Linked DNA regions of Homo sapiens: region 2 is linked to region 1. Evidence: promoter capture Hi-C in 16 types of primary human blood cells and fetal thymus (Javierre and others, 2016). All regions are on one chromosome and are shown on one strand. Each heading gives the region's core, a stretch centred on a gene start or on the middle of the fragment in contact. The rest is flanking DNA. Distances are from core to core; before and after follow the strand shown. Region 1 holds the start of SEMA7A (semaphorin 7A (JohnMiltonHagen blood group)). Region 2 overlaps RPP25 (ribonuclease P/MRP subunit p25).

Region 1 (2,944 bases), core at 126-2,625:
ACTCGTTTTGTGTATGGTTTTTTTTCCCCTCTGCTAATAATACCTGCCCCAGATAATGCTCAGACTCCCGCAATCCCTGCAAACTGCCAAAGGCATCAAAAGGCTCCCGGTGGGGCCAGACCCGACCAGTTCCCCCAGCCCCCACTGCGAGTCCCCCACCATCACGACAGGGGGGCCGCAGACACGCCAAATTTGGGGACAGAGCCGAATCGGACTGGGGGCGGGGAGGCATTTGTGTGCAATGCAGGGGAGGGGAGATCAGTTCCTCGCGGCAGAAAGCCTCAAACCCCCGCCTAACCGGCTTTCTGTCCCATAGTACAGGGTCTAAACTGAGGTGCCCTGGGGGAGACTCCAGTCCCCCAGGTTCTTATTATCTACCCTGGCCTAAAGGCTGCACCCCCGCCCTAGATCCACCGCCTGGGGGTCCCAACGGCCGTGCCCCACCCAACGGGCACTGCCCCCCAACGCTGGAGCCGATTTCTGGTGACAACTGCCACGTGCGGGCAAGGGGGGAGCGGCCGGTCCCGGCATTGCTGAGGCAGCGCCCTGGTACCCCAAGCCGCCGCACCGCACCATGTCCCGCCGCTCGCTGCAGGATGCCCACCCCCTTGCCTGGCCCGAGCTCCGGGCCGGGGCGGGGGCGGGGGCAGGCGGCGGGGTCTTTGTTCCCGCTGCCGAAGCGCGGCGGCGGCGGCAAGGGGTCCGCGCCCCCCTTGCCGGCCCAGCCTGCGCCCCGCGCGCCAGCAGAGCCCGCAGCTCAAAAGGAGGGTACCCGGGTTGGGGTCCCAGGCGGGGAAAGGTCCTCCGCCGAAGCCCCCGAGCCAGAGGACCCAGAGTGGCTCGGGGCCGAGAGAGGGGCCCGCCCCCTCCCCTGGCGCCCGGGCGTTGCGGCTCCTGGCTGCCAGGGACTTGGTGCGACTTAGCCGGGGCTCCGGCCCCCGCCGCTCGCTCGCCGCAGCGTTACAGCCGGCTCTGGTGTGCCAGCGTGTACACTCACACACACTCACCCAAACCCACACGCTCCACGCGGGGACAGCGCGGGGACAGCCCGGGACCCGCAGAGCTGCGCGCACGCACTCCCTCCGGGTGCAGCACACTCCGCACCCGCCCCGCGCAGCGTCTGATCCCGCGCCTGACCGGCCGCGCGGCGCCGCCTACCTTTCCAGACGGCGAAGATGCGGGGTCCGCTCCTTAGGTGGCCCTGGGCGGAGGCGGCGGCCGCCCAGAGCAGCAGCAGCAGCCGCAGCCGCAGCGGAAGCCCCAACCGAGCCGGCGGGCCAGGGACGCGGGCGCGCGGTGCGCTGGGGGCGGCACGTCCGGGCGGAGGAGGCGTCATCCCGTGGCCCCGGGAGCGACAGCGGCAATCAGCCGAGACTGAGCCAGCGCCCGGCCGCAGGCAGACCCAAGCGCCAGGAGGCGGAGCCAGCGCTGACCCCACCCCGCCCCTCCCCCCGCCCCTCGCAGCCTTTTCTCGCCTCACTGGCTTTCCTGAGCGAGAGCGGAACTGCTGGGGGAACCTTCGCCACCCTCTCCCGGGCAACTCTACGGGGAAAGCCCAGCTGCGGACAAGCCAGACTTGTGGTCTTCTGCCAGGGGCGGCAGGCCCTATCCCCTCTCTGGGCCTCAGTTCCACTCCCCGCACCCCGTAAAAAGATTGGCGTAGAAGTCGTGGAGGACCTCTCTCCAAGGGCGCAGAGGAGTCCAACACCCAACAACCTTGCTATGGCCAGCTAAGTGGTTCGCACCCTGAGGACTATGGTCCTCGGAGGATGCGTTCGCCTAAGTGGACACGGCTCCCTGCTGAGCCTACCAGCAGGCACAACGATGATATGTGGGGAGCACTCAGGGACCCGCTGTTGCTTTGCCTGGGAGAACACTGGAAATTTTTCATCTTGGCCTGGCTCCTTCCCCTCCCTCTCCTTTCTCCTCCCTTTCCCAGCCAGCAGCCTTCTGGGCTGCCTCCCCCCAAGCCAGCTGGTGTACGCTCAGAAAATCCAAACTCATTTCCATGTGAGTGGAGGGGGATATAATTAGGAAGGCCCCTTCCCCAAGTAGAGAGGGGAGCATCCCCCGTGCCCCACTCACTGTGGGGGAGGGAGGGTCAAAGCAGCTTAAGGGGATCTCTGCCCGCAAAGTGCCTAGGGCTCAGCTATCTCAGGCAACCTGACCATTCAGTGGGGACTCCCTTGGGGGGTCCAGGCCCAGACCCTCTGCAGTTACCTGAGCAGTCCAGCCAGCTCTGCCATCAGCTCCTCCTCTCAGAACTACGTGCCTGCCCTTTGTAAAAGGGTCTCCTCTCTCTAGACCAGACAGGGCCCAGACCTACCACTTCCACTTGTGCCCCAGGGAACCATGAATGGAAAATCCACCCAGCTCAGTAAGTACTTATCTAGTGTTTACTGGATGTCTAGCTGCACTGAGAGGAGACAGGCCGAGGAAGGAGTAGAGGTGAACATCCAACCTTCAGAACTCACAGACCTAGACACGATTCACGCACTGCAGACACCAGCAAAGGCGGTGGGCTGGCTGCCCTCTGCCCTCTGCCCTGCTCCATGGGGCCAGGACCATTTGGTTGTTGTTTTTACCTCCTGGAACCAGGAAAGTTTTGCTACCAAGAAGTTTGGCTTTACCATTCTACATTTTGCTTCCAGTTGTCCCCTCCTTCTTCCCTCAGAGTCCTGAGGCACCCCAGCAGGCCAGGAAGGTAAACTCAAGGTACCTCCAGAGACAGTGCAGAGTGAGGTTCCTGGCCCACTGGGTGAAGCCAACAGCCTCCTGATACACAGGGGCACACTGCCCCAGAGAGGGAGGCTGTGGACAGTCTAAGAGCTCCTCCTCAGGCCTGCACCTAAGCCTGTGGCCCTGAAGCCAGCAGTGGAGCCTGGCCCAGGCCAGCCTCTAAGATGGACATTCGGTTTCACCTGCTAGACAGGTATTGCCCTCA
Region 2 (2,944 bases), core at 268-2,767, 520 kb after region 1:
AACATGGTGAAACCCCATCTCTACTAATAATAAAAAAATTAGCCGGGCGTGGTAGTGCACACCTATAATCCCAGCTACTCCGGAGGCTGAGGCAGGAGAATCACTTGAACCTGGGAGGCAGAGGTTGCGGTGAGCTGAGATTGTGCCATTGCACTACAGCCGGGCGAAAAAATATATATATATATAAAATCGTGGTGGCTCACACCTCTAATCCCAGCACTTTGGGAAGCCAAGGCAGGTGGATCACAAGGTCAAGAGATTGAGACCATCCTGGCCAACATGGTGAAATGCCGTCTCTACTAAAAATACAAAAATTAGCTGGGCGTGGTGGCACATGCCTGTAATCCCAGCTACTTGGGAGGCTGAGGCAGAAGAATCGCTTAAACCCAGGAGGTGGAGGTTGCAGTGAGCTGAGATTGCACCACTGCACTCCAGCCTAGTGACAGAGCAAGACTCCTTCTCAAAATAATAATAATAATAATTAAAATAAAAAAAATAAAAAAGAGAGGCCGGGTGTGGTGGCTCATGCCTGTAATCCCAGCACTGTGGGAGGCCGAGGCGGGTGGATCACCTGAGATCAGGTGTTTGAGACCAGCCTGGCCAACATGGTGAGACCCCTTCTCTACTAAAAATACAAAAACTAGCCGAGTGTGGGGATACACGCCTGTAATCCCAGCTACTCAGGAGGCTGAGGCAGGAGAATCGCTTGAACCCAGGAGGCAGAGGTTGCAGTGAGCCGAGATCGCACCACAGCACTCCAGCCCGGGCGACAGAGAGATACTCCGTTTCAAAAAAAATAATAAAAAAAAATCCATTGCAGCCTTATCTCCGTGACAAGACTAGCAGACCCTGCTTTCTTTTTTTTTTTTTCGAGACGGAGTCTCACACTGTCGCCCAGGCTGGAGTGCAGTGATGCAATCTCGGCTCACTGCAACCTCCGCCTCCCAGGTTCAAGCGATTCTCCTGCCTCAGCCTCCTGAGTAGCTGGGATTACAGGCGCCCGCCACCATGCCTGACTAATTTTTGTATTTTTAGTGGAGACGGGGTTTCACCATGTTGGCCAGGCTGGTCTCAAGCTCCTGACCTCGTGATTTGCCCGCCTTGGCCCCCCAAAGTGCTGGGATTACAGGATTACAGGCATGAACCACCATGCCCGGCCTCAGGCCCTGCTTTCATAGTCCTGGTAACCCGGCTATCAGTCACTTGTTGTCTTGGAAAGTTGGACCCTTTTCAGAACCAAGACCAGTCTCCCTTAAGCTTCTACCATGCAGGACCTTGTCCAAGTTTTATCACTGCCTTTAGATGCTGAAGTCCAGGAGAAGCTAGGCCATCTTGTCAGGACAGTTTACATTCTTTCCATGCTTCTTGGGCCACCCCTGAGAGGGTCAGACAAGCAAACCCAAACCCCTTGGCCCTCTCCAGGGACTCATCAAGAGCAGGAATTTGGGGAGAGCAACGAGGGACAAAGTCTGGATGACAAAGCTCACTCCAAAGCTCAAGCAGAGATACTGCAGGGGAGGGAAACCTCCCTAAGAGCCCCTCCAGTCAGCCACAGAACGTATCTCTTGTCACCAGCAGGATTTATTTCAGGGTTCTGCCAGCAAAATGACTTATAAATACATTCTTCCGCATCTCCCCCTTTCCAGGGGTGCTGCTGAGTTGCATGGGATGAGATCTGCTTCTGAGATCCTGGGGCTGTATGCCACCCCCAACTCACCAGAGCTCTTCCAGCACACAGCAGCACCCCCACCCCCCAGCTGGCTTGGAGTTGGGCAGAGAAGCTTATGAGGCTGTTATCTCTCAACAGACAGCTGTGCAGGGCTGGAGGCAGCAGCTTATCAGGAGGCCTGCAGTGATTCACAGCCCAAGACCCAGCTTCTCTGCTGAATAGTAATTTCCAGCAGTGGATTTGTGCTCAGTCTCTCTCCTCCCCCTTTCCCAAGGGTGTGCTGTCCTTTCTCAGAGAGAGGGCAGTGAAGGGGAGATCCTACCCACAGAGCTGGGGGCTTTGTGCCAGCCTTCTGGGTAAGGTTCAGTTTATTGTCTGGAGGCTGCAGATTCAGGGACCTCAGCAGGGTCTGCCACCCTTTGCAGTGACCTCCAGGAGAGTTCATCGATGCTGTCCTTCCACTCCTTCCTTCCCCTCCCAGAAAAACAATGTGCCGCTCCCTTTCCCTTAGTGGCGATGTACAGGGGTACACGGGCCCCCATTTGCAACAGCCTCTGAGGCCAGGGCCAGCCCGGGAGGGCGGAGTGGGGGAGGAGAGAGGAAGAAGCCAGGGACTGGGCAGTGCCTTGCACCATTTTGAAGCTGTTCAGTCTCTGTGCCTGACCCTGAAGACTCCAAAGACTCAGGACGCAAGGCTGGAGGGGAGGGGAGACACAAGGGGCCAGGCGAGAGCTGTCTCTGCACAGGCGGGTGGTTAGAAAAAAAATGGGGGACACAGCCATTTTTGTGCTTGTTTTATTGGAAGCAAGACTCCAGCCAGCTGCAGGGCTCAGGGGAGGAGGCCTGGAGAGTTCAGTCCTGGGTCTCCCTCTGGGCCAGCAGGGGGAAAAGGGGTGTTAAAAGAGCTAGAACCCTCAGAGATGCTCCTCTGAAGCAGGGGAAAGAAAACTAGAAAGGAAAACTGTCCCAGGGCGGGGAGCGGAATAGGGCCCCCACATCTCAGACTCTCCTACCCTCAAGCAGTTAATTCTCACCCCCTGCCTTCCTCTGTCAACGGTGGGGGTGATTCCAATAACTCTTCTCAGCTTCCATACTTCAGGTGCTCTTCGTGAATGCTGGGTGGCTTTAACCCTTGGGGGTCCCAAACAAGTTTCCAGAATCCCACTGTCCACCATTCTCCCCCAAAGAAGGTCCCAGAAAAGGTGAAGTTCCGTGTCTTCACGCAACACGGGCATAAGCAGCAATTATCGCACGAAGTTTCCCTAGGGTGGTCGG

What was found. Contacts are between HindIII fragments. The CHiCAGO score rates a contact against its expected background, and 5 or more counts as called.
Region 2: a fragment that was not itself captured here is called in contact with the fragment with the promoter of SEMA7A in region 1 in 3 of 17 cell types (naive B cells, fetal thymus and naive CD8 T cells); the score reaches 6.5 in naive B cells.

Annotation. Positions count from the first base shown.
Region 1 is chr15:74,432,583-74,435,526 of GRCh38, forward strand. It overlaps SEMA7A (semaphorin 7A (JohnMiltonHagen blood group)), which reads right to left and starts at 1,376. Exons shown (of 14, transcript NM_003612.5): 1 at 1,159-1,376. The coding sequence starts at 1,336. RefSeq lists silencers at 539-658, 809-958, 1,009-1,518. The HindIII fragment of the contact is 7,034 bases long and covers 1-2,944 here.
Region 2 is chr15:74,952,855-74,955,798 of GRCh38, forward strand. It overlaps RPP25 (ribonuclease P/MRP subunit p25), which reads right to left. Exons shown (of 1, transcript NM_017793.3): 1 at 1,564-2,944. Among named protein-coding and RNA genes, the nearest start is that of RPP25, 2.4 kb to the right of the region's middle. RefSeq lists enhancers at 1,734-2,667, 2,668-2,944. The HindIII fragment of the contact is 524 bases long and covers 1,256-1,779 here.